3 separate regions of the Homo sapiens genome follow, and all the other regions are linked to region 2. Evidence: promoter capture Hi-C in human tissues and cell types (Jung and others, 2019). All regions are on one chromosome and are shown on one strand. Each heading gives the region's core, a stretch centred on a gene start or on the middle of the fragment in contact. The rest is flanking DNA. Distances are from core to core; before and after follow the strand shown.

The links. Contacts are between HindIII fragments. The study calls those that stand out against the background at their distance.
Region 1: a contact is called between the fragment with the promoter of SHC4 here and the fragment with the promoter of FAM227B in region 2, in 1 of the 25 tissues and cell types used here (adrenal gland).
Region 3: a fragment that was not itself captured here is called in contact with the fragment with the promoter of FAM227B in region 2 in 1 of the 25 tissues and cell types used here (dorsolateral prefrontal cortex).

The regions. Positions count from the first base shown.
Region 1 is chr15:48,962,650-48,965,349 of GRCh38, reverse strand. It overlaps SHC4 (SHC adaptor protein 4), which reads left to right and starts at 1,431. Exons shown (of 12, transcript NM_203349.4): 1 at 1,431-2,700. The coding sequence starts at 2,335. RefSeq lists enhancers at 1,953-2,454, 2,455-2,700. The HindIII fragment of the contact is 15,905 bases long and covers 1-2,700 here.
Region 2 is chr15:49,619,529-49,622,228 of GRCh38, reverse strand. It overlaps FAM227B (family with sequence similarity 227 member B), which reads left to right and starts at 1,411. Exons shown (of 16, transcript NM_152647.3): 1 at 1,411-1,529. DTWD1 (DTW motif tRNA-uridine aminocarboxypropyltransferase 1) reads right to left here and starts at 1,181. Exons shown (of 5, transcript NM_001144955.2): 1 at 1,107-1,181. RefSeq lists an enhancer at 950-1,069. The HindIII fragment of the contact is 10,713 bases long and covers 1-2,700 here.
Region 3 is chr15:50,191,758-50,194,457 of GRCh38, reverse strand. The region is part of intron 1 of SLC27A2 (solute carrier family 27 member 2); the gene reads right to left. Among named protein-coding and RNA genes, the nearest start is that of SLC27A2, 11 kb to the right of the region's middle. The HindIII fragment of the contact is 7,424 bases long and covers 1-2,700 here.

The sequences.
Region 1 (2,700 bases), core at 182-2,681, 660 kb after region 2:
ATGATGTAAACTCTGCAGTGTGAGGGTTAAGAATATGAGCTTCAAGGGGAGGTAGCTCTGGTTCCAATGGCCATTTTTTCATACTGCCCACATGTACTTAGTGAGATGGGCACTGTATGGAGCATTGGGCCTCGTAAGCCCTCATAACAACCCCATTAGATGGCTGCTGCCAACATATGAGGACATTCAGGCACGGAGAGGTAAAGTAACTTTCTAAAGGGAGCATATAATGAGGTCATCATAGCATAACAGAAGCAACACAGGGACCCAGGGACCCAGGGGAAGGCAGGAAAAATGAGAGGAAGAAAGCAGATGAGGAATGAGGAGGAATGAGAGGTAAATATTCTTGCCCAGAGCCTGTCTCCTCAGCCCCAGGGATGTGGGGTCCAACTGATTTAGCTACTTCCCTCAGTTTTGCCAGGAGGAGATGTAGGGCAGGGAAAAGGAGGTCAACAAGGATTGAAGGGAAGATTTATGAAGATGCAGAAAGGCCTTTCCAGGGAAAGAAATGTCTGAACAGGCTTGGCAGACAGGATGTGATGGGTGCTTTATTTCCCTGGGGGACCAGGGAGCTTGGGAGGAGGATGCCGCTTTCACTGGTCACTCTCAACCATTTAATTCAGAACCTGTGTTTGGATCCCAAGGGAGCTCAGGCTCCCAAAGTCATGAATATACATAAGCCTAATCCAGCATTAGGGACAATAAGATAATGAAGGTGGCACCCTTAATTCCTTTGGTTGCCAGTTTGTCTTAATTTTTTAATTAATGAACAATTTCAGATGTCAAAGCCTTGAGACACGGAGTAATGCAATCTTTTCTGAGAGTTCTTTATCTCTTCCTATGTGTGATTTCCACCCCACCCCGACACCCCACACCCCCAGTGTTTCAGCAGTTTCCTCTTCTCCATTCCTGAAGAACCTGCATTTCCTTTTCCCAGCTCTGGTTTTGGCTTCCTGTGTGCTAAGCCTTTGCAGTTGTCATCATGTCTTCAGGATGCATTTGATAGGTACAGGAAGTCGCACCAGACGGAAGATGGAACCAACAATCAATAAAAAAAGAACTATGTTTCTAAGAAAAATGCATCATGGCTTCCCACAGGAGTTGTGAACCATATGTCCTAATATCCCTGTAACAATGGGTCTAATTTTTAGCTCTTCTGCTCTGCCCTCCCGGCCATCTCAACAAGAAAGAAAATAGATCTTTTAACCTGCTGCTCCCCGGCTAATGATCTGTAGTAAAGATTGCCTTTCCTTTTAACTCATTCATCAGATACCACAAAATAAAATACGTCCCTCCTCTCCCGCTAGCTTTATTTCTCTCGGCTACTAGTTTAGTATATTTATGGTGTATGAGTCATCAAGCTGCCTCCTGATTGGATAAAAACCAAGCACCTCTGAGACCGTCAGTCAATTACAGCTATTCTCAGCTTCATTCACAGATTTATTAGCTTGCACACACACAGAGAAATTCATTCGGCAAAGTTCATTCATAAAAATTTCAACACGCTGCGTATCATCCTGCACATCTCAGCTTTCGGCTGCAAATGGGCTTCTGAAAAAAGCTCCGAGAGGAATCCAGGAGGGAGGGAAGCTCTGAGCGAGGGTAGGCAGGCTGGGAGGGGATCTGAGGAACACGGACCCATCACAAGTCAGTGAAACAATGCGGAGCAGCGCCCGTCAGTAGTACTCCTGGCTGGTGGCCCAGAACGGGATGCAAGACAAGATCTTCCAAGAGAGGGCAGCCTTTGGAATCAACGAACCCAGGCAAAAGGGCCTTTGGTTCATAGATACATTTTTTTTTCCTTTTTAAATGAACAATCACTGGAACAAATAAAGGGTTAATAGGCCAGTCATTTGCCCCGCCCTGTGAGAGCCGAAGGGAGCAGGTTCGAAAGTTCCTGTGTGCAGAACAGAAGGCTGGGGTGAGGGTGGGAGTCGGGTGCTAAATATTTCTACTAGGCTCCTGCAAGGCTAGTGATGCAGCGGGCCCCCCGACCGGCGCTCGCCCGGGTTCTGCGCCTAAGAGTTGGCCGTGAGCGACCCGCGCCGCCGGGAGCCTGGGTCTAGGCTCTCCCGACAAGGATTCCAAGGCGAGAACACTGGTGCCTCTGCCTGGGCCAGGGAGAGACTGAAATCAGAGCAGGGGAGGCGTTTCCCCCATGGGCTGTCACCCTTAAGGGGCCGGGAGCCGAGGTGGGCGAGCTCGAGAGCAGAGTTGGAGAGGTGGCTGCTGTGAGTTGCATCGGGCGTTGAGGTATCTGATGTCTGCACCGTTTATCTACCAGACGACGAGGCGATTTATGCAACAGTATCCTGTTTCAGCACTGCCAAGGCTATGCGAGAACGCGGCCAGGACAGCCTGGCAGGACTCGTGCTGTATGTAGGACTCTTCGGGCACCCCGGGATGCTGCACAGGGCCAAGTACAGCCGCTTTCGGAACGAGTCGATCACGTCCTTGGACGAAGGTAGCTCCGGAGGCTCGGTCGGGAACAAGGGCTCGCCGCAGCCTCCCCACCCCGCCCTGGCACCTCACCTGCCGACTGAAGATGCCACCTTGCCGTCGCAGGAGAGCCCCACCCCACTGTGCACCTTGATCCCCCGCATGGCAAGCATGAAGCTGGCCAACCCGGCCACTTTGCTGAGTCTGAAAAACTTTTGCCTGGGTACCAAAGAGGTGCCTCGGCTGAAGCTCCAGGAAAGC
Region 2 (2,700 bases), core at 162-2,661:
CTCTGTAAGAGCAGATTCCTTCCCTGATCTCACCTATTCCTGATTCTTATGCAACAGCAGGAACTCAACAAACACTTGTTAACTAAATCAAAACCATTCTGCAAAACACATCCAGTAAGCATCTCACTACTGAAGTATCTGACAAACTACCTTTATGGGCCGTCTGCAGCCTAGCACAAGTGGCAGGCTGGCAATTTTTTTTTCTCCAAAATAATAACAAAAAGCTTCTACCTCTTCCATTATTGTAAGCTGACTCACCTCCCAATGGAACACTATACAGACTCCCCTGTCCTATATTGTGGACCAATTCAGTATTAGAAAAAAACCACTTCCAATTTTCTTTAGAGTGTTTTTAAGAACTTGGTCACATAGGACCTACAGGTCCAACATTCATTTTTCATAATCCAAGGTAGTAGTACCCTTTTTCATATAGGATCAATGGCCTCTCCCACACCACCCGCCATATGGTAACAAACTGTCTTGCCTTCGTTTTCATGGTGCACTGGGTTAGTCCTTACATGCTGCGATCTACAGTATTGATTTTACCATCCAACTTTGTGGGCCTGGCGACTGAAAATGTTAATATACTTCCTTATTTGTCCTACATTCCCAATAAATAATTTAGACGTAAGAAACAGGCTCTTTTGCTTATTATGTAACCACAACCTCAATATTTTAAATACACTGCATGGCATCACTAATTCTACGTCTGTACTACGCTTCCCCTTCCGTGATAACCAAACCCCCACAAACCACTCCAAATACTAAAAATAAAATAAAATAAAGTATGGGGTTCCTAGGGAACTGACTTTGCCAGGACATACTTTTCGTTGGGGCGGAATGCACCGAAAATCATTGGTAGGAAAAATAATTTTTTTTTTGAGGAAAAATTTGGAAACCTTTTTCCCAAAGGGCCCGCAAGATCCTAAAAAAAGCAAGAGACCGCGCAGAAACCGAGGATCCCCCTCACAGGCGACACCCAGCGCGACCTCCGCTAGGGTCCTGACAAAGAATGTCCACTTCCCGCGGCCGCACCTCTGGGGCCAGACCACTGGTCTCCAGAGAGGCGCGGGGACCTCCACCAGGGATCGGAGTGGTACTCAGACCTGCACACCCGCGAGTCCTCGAACAGCTCCACACGTCTCCAGCTCCGCCCGAGCCCGAGCCACGCGCCGGGCCGTGATCGCGCACGGACCAGACGGAGCGCTTTCCGGGAGACACCAGAGGGAGGAGCCAGGCAGTTACTAGCGTCGTTGCTAAGGCAGGGGCCGCGCACACCGCACACCGCGCGGCTTAAGCAACAGGCTGGGACGACAGCGGGGGGGGGGTTAGACGGGAAGTTCCGCCTCAGCCTCTCAATCAGCGGCGGTGTCGCACTTCTCCCGAGAGGCTCCGGCGAGGGGCAGGGCCGCGTTCGTCCGGGACCCGCCTCAAGCCTCGCAGCCTTTCACCCAGTTTCCTCCCGATTCTTGCTGGGACAACAAAATTGGGAAGCGGTTCTCGAAACATACTGTCAAGGCGTAGTTGCAGTGAGTTGTGAAGAAATGTTGATCCCAGAGAAAAGTTTGCATTTTGCCCACCTCAAAGATATTTTGATTGTGAGAACTTGGTTACATTAGTCTTTCGTGGCTATATCAATATCATTATTTCGTGTGCTGTGTGGTAATGAAAGCTATTAGAAAAATCATTTGTATCTTAATGATTTAGTTTGCATAAAAACACGCATATAGAGTTAAGAGTACTTTGTGTTTTTCCACTTTGAAGTATAATATGTGGATAAGTTATTAGAACATTTGTCCGTGCCTCTCCCCAAACAATGCGCAAACGGAAGTGCACTCTAACAACTAAGATTTTAAAACACAATGGTCAAATGTTGAGCAATGTTTTATTGACTACTCTGAATTTATCAAGTGGTAGATAAAGGACATTACAATGCCCTAGAAGTGCTCACGATATCAAGTAAAGCATGTTAAATTCAAGTACAGAAAATGCAATATTCTTACTACTGAGATAAAAAATGGAATTTAATAAATTACAGGAATTTCAAGAAAGCTGAGAATGGAGTGGTCAATAAAGGCTTCTTTTTCGGACTTGGGTAAGGCCTTGAAGAATGATTTAGGTTTAGGACAGTGTTTTTCAACTGGAAAGGGGATTGTGTGGGACCCATTAGTGGAGGTCTTGACCCATTTGTAAGCAAGGAAATCTCTTTAAACTTAAAAAAAAGAAACAATATAGATTGGAAATATCAGCGCATGTAAGTAAATTTAGTGTTAGTTAGTAAAGTACTGCTTTATGGAGCTTTTAATTGTATATATGCGTGTATGTGTGCACTAGGGCTTGTTTGTAAAATGTATTTCTTACTGTATTTCAAACCTTAAAAAGTTTGAAAGCCAGTGATTTAGGGAGAAAGGTGAATTTTCTGGGTAGGGAAAGTAGAATAGCAAAGTCTATAAGCCAAGAAGAATTCACAACCATTTTCCTTTTTAGTTTAACTCTAAATTTTATCAAAGTAGTTAAATTGCACAGATTAAAAAGCAAATAATACTACTTGTTAGATTGAGCATTGGGTTGCTATCGTATGTAATAAATTACTCCAAAATATGGTGGCTTAAAACAACCATTTTATTATGTTCACAGGTGGTGTTGTCAATAGGGCATAGTCATCAGCTTTTCTTTGGTAACTCAATTAGAAAGACTAGA
Region 3 (2,700 bases), core at 155-2,654, 570 kb before region 2:
CATCTCCTACTCTCTACCTCTTGCCCTCTTTCCTCTAACCACATTGATCTATGGAAAATCCCTGAAGGTACCTGTATGCTCACGTCTCATTACTTTTGCCCAGGTTGTTTCATGGTCTCTCACCCCCTGGTCACCTGGAAAACTCCTGCTTATCCTTCAAGACTCAGTGTAGGTAGCACTTCTTTTCTGTTATCTTCCCTCCCTCTGCAAAGTTAGCTGCTCCCTTCTACAGCTCCCATAGGAGCCCGTATTTACAATTATCAGGGCGCTTATACACAGTATGATAGGGTTCAATTTTTTAATTTTTCTTTAGAGACAGGGTCCTGCTCTGTCTCCCAGGCTGGAGTGCAGTGGCGTGATCATGGCTTACTGCAGCGTCAACCTCCTGGGCTCAAGTGATTTTCCCATTTCAGCCTCTCAAGTAACTGGGACTACAGGAGTACCATGCCCAGCTAACTTTTTGTAGAGATGATGTCCCGCTACGTTGCCCAGGCTGATCTGAAACTTGTGAGCTCAAGTGATCCTCCCACCTCAGCCTTTCAAAATGCTGGGATTACAGGTGTGAGCCACCATGCCTGGTGGATGTGGTTTAATTCATTTTCTCCTCTATTAGACAGGGAGATCTTTGAAATTAAGATAATAATCAAATCATCTTTGTACCCCCAGAACTACTAGATAAGTGCTCAATAAATGTTTATAATTGAAAAAATTTTGCACAAAATATGATATTAGTGTGGAAGACACAGAGGAATAAGGTAAAGCTGCTTAAAGGATTCAGATCTGGCAGTTGATAAACCTTTAATGAAACATAATGTAAGATGAAATAATTTCTGAGATACAAGTATGCCTTGCTTACAAGTAAGGGCCCACAGAGGCAAATTTTAAAACAACAACTCCTACTGCTAAAGAATTGTGAAATCTCCTTTCTTTCCTCCTGTCATGAGACTCAGGGTCCATAGTCAAACAATCCGTTCATAAGTTACCTGGATCCATTCTCATTCCCTCCCTCCCAACATTTATTCAACATCTATTTAAAGAGTGTTCCCTGTGTGCCAGGCAGGTCTCTACATGCTGGATATGACAGTGAGCAAAACGCTCTCCCTGTTTTCATAGAGCCCAGGTCTAATAGAGGAGAAACAAACAAACAAAAATCAAAATAAATTGCCACAGGTGTCACAACAGGGGAAGGAGAAGGTATTTGGGGAGCAGGTGGTGGGGGGCAGAAAGACGACCTAGAAGAAGTGCCCTGTAAACTGAGACCTGAAAGATGAGCAGACGGTGGAGATGAAGATCAGCTGGGACTGACTAAGCCTGAGTCTGGGCAGTGGAACGGCTTATGCAAAGGCCCAGAGCCAACGCAGCCTGGGGCCTGAGTAACTAAAAGAGGTTAAAGCTGACTGGAATGTAGAGTTGGAGGGGAATAAGGTTGGGAGAAGAGGTAGGGAGACCAGCTGTTAGATGATGCTTGTCTACACTGTGTAGGCAGCAGTGTGGGTAGAGAGAAGTGAATGTACTTAAGAGATATCTGGTAGGTAGAGTAGATAGGACTTAGCAACAGTCTTTTTTTTTTCTTATTTTTCACCTCCAAGTAATCATCTTAATGAGGGGAAAATGGTAGGTCAAAAGGGACTTTAAGTTTTTCTGTACTTCTTCTTCTTTTTTTTTTTTTTAAGAAAAATGTACTTACAGCTAGCCTGGGCAACATGGCAAAACACCTCTACAAAAAAATACACACACAAAGAAATATTAGCCGGATGTGGTGGCGCACACCTGTAGTCCCAGCTACTCTGGAGGCTGAGGTGGGAGGATCACCTGAGCCTGGGAGGTCAAGGCTGCAGTGAGCCATGATTATGCCACTGCACTCCAGCCTGGGCAACAGAGTGGGACCCTGTCTCAAAAAAAAAATTTAAAAAAAAAGAAAAATGTACTCAGGTATTAGCATGAAAAATTAATAATAAAAGGAAATGTAATTAAGCTGGTGTCATGCTTGATCACAGTCCAAGCAACTTCACCTCATGTGTACTTCATTCATGTTCCCAGCTGGCCCTCTGCAGGCATGTAGTTTGTGATTCCTGACCTTTTATGCAAGTCATCTAATCTGAAGGGAGGGCCATTGCCCCTGCCCTACACCATCTCCTTCCATCTCCTCTAGGCTGTTGGTGTAGATTTGTTATTTGGGCAGACTTGAGTTTCCAGCGGCTTGCCAACCATATCTGGACACACTATGGAAGCCTTTCTTCCCTTAAAGATGTAGAAAGAAAAAAGAAATTTGAAAGGAAATTCTGGATGTGAATCTACCTGTCAACTATCTAGTTGATATTTAATGTCTTTTATTTTCTTGAGTCTTTTGTAGATATGTTTGGGCCTACATATTTTCTTTTTTCTTTTTTTTTTTTTTGAGATGGAGTCTCACTCTGTCATCCAGGCTGGAGTGCAATGGCGTGATCTCAACTCACTGCAATCTCTGCCTCCTGGGTTCAAGCGGCTCTCCTGCCTCAGCCTCCCGAGTAGCTGGGATTACAGGCGGCTGTCACCATGCCCGGCTAATGTTTGTATTTTTAGTAGAGATGGGGTTTCACCAATTTGGCCAGGCTGGTCTTGAACTCCCAACCTCAAGTGATCCGCCCACCTTGGCCTCCCAAAGTGTTGGGATTACAGGCATGAGCCACTGCCTGGTTGGCCTACATATTTTCTAATGCA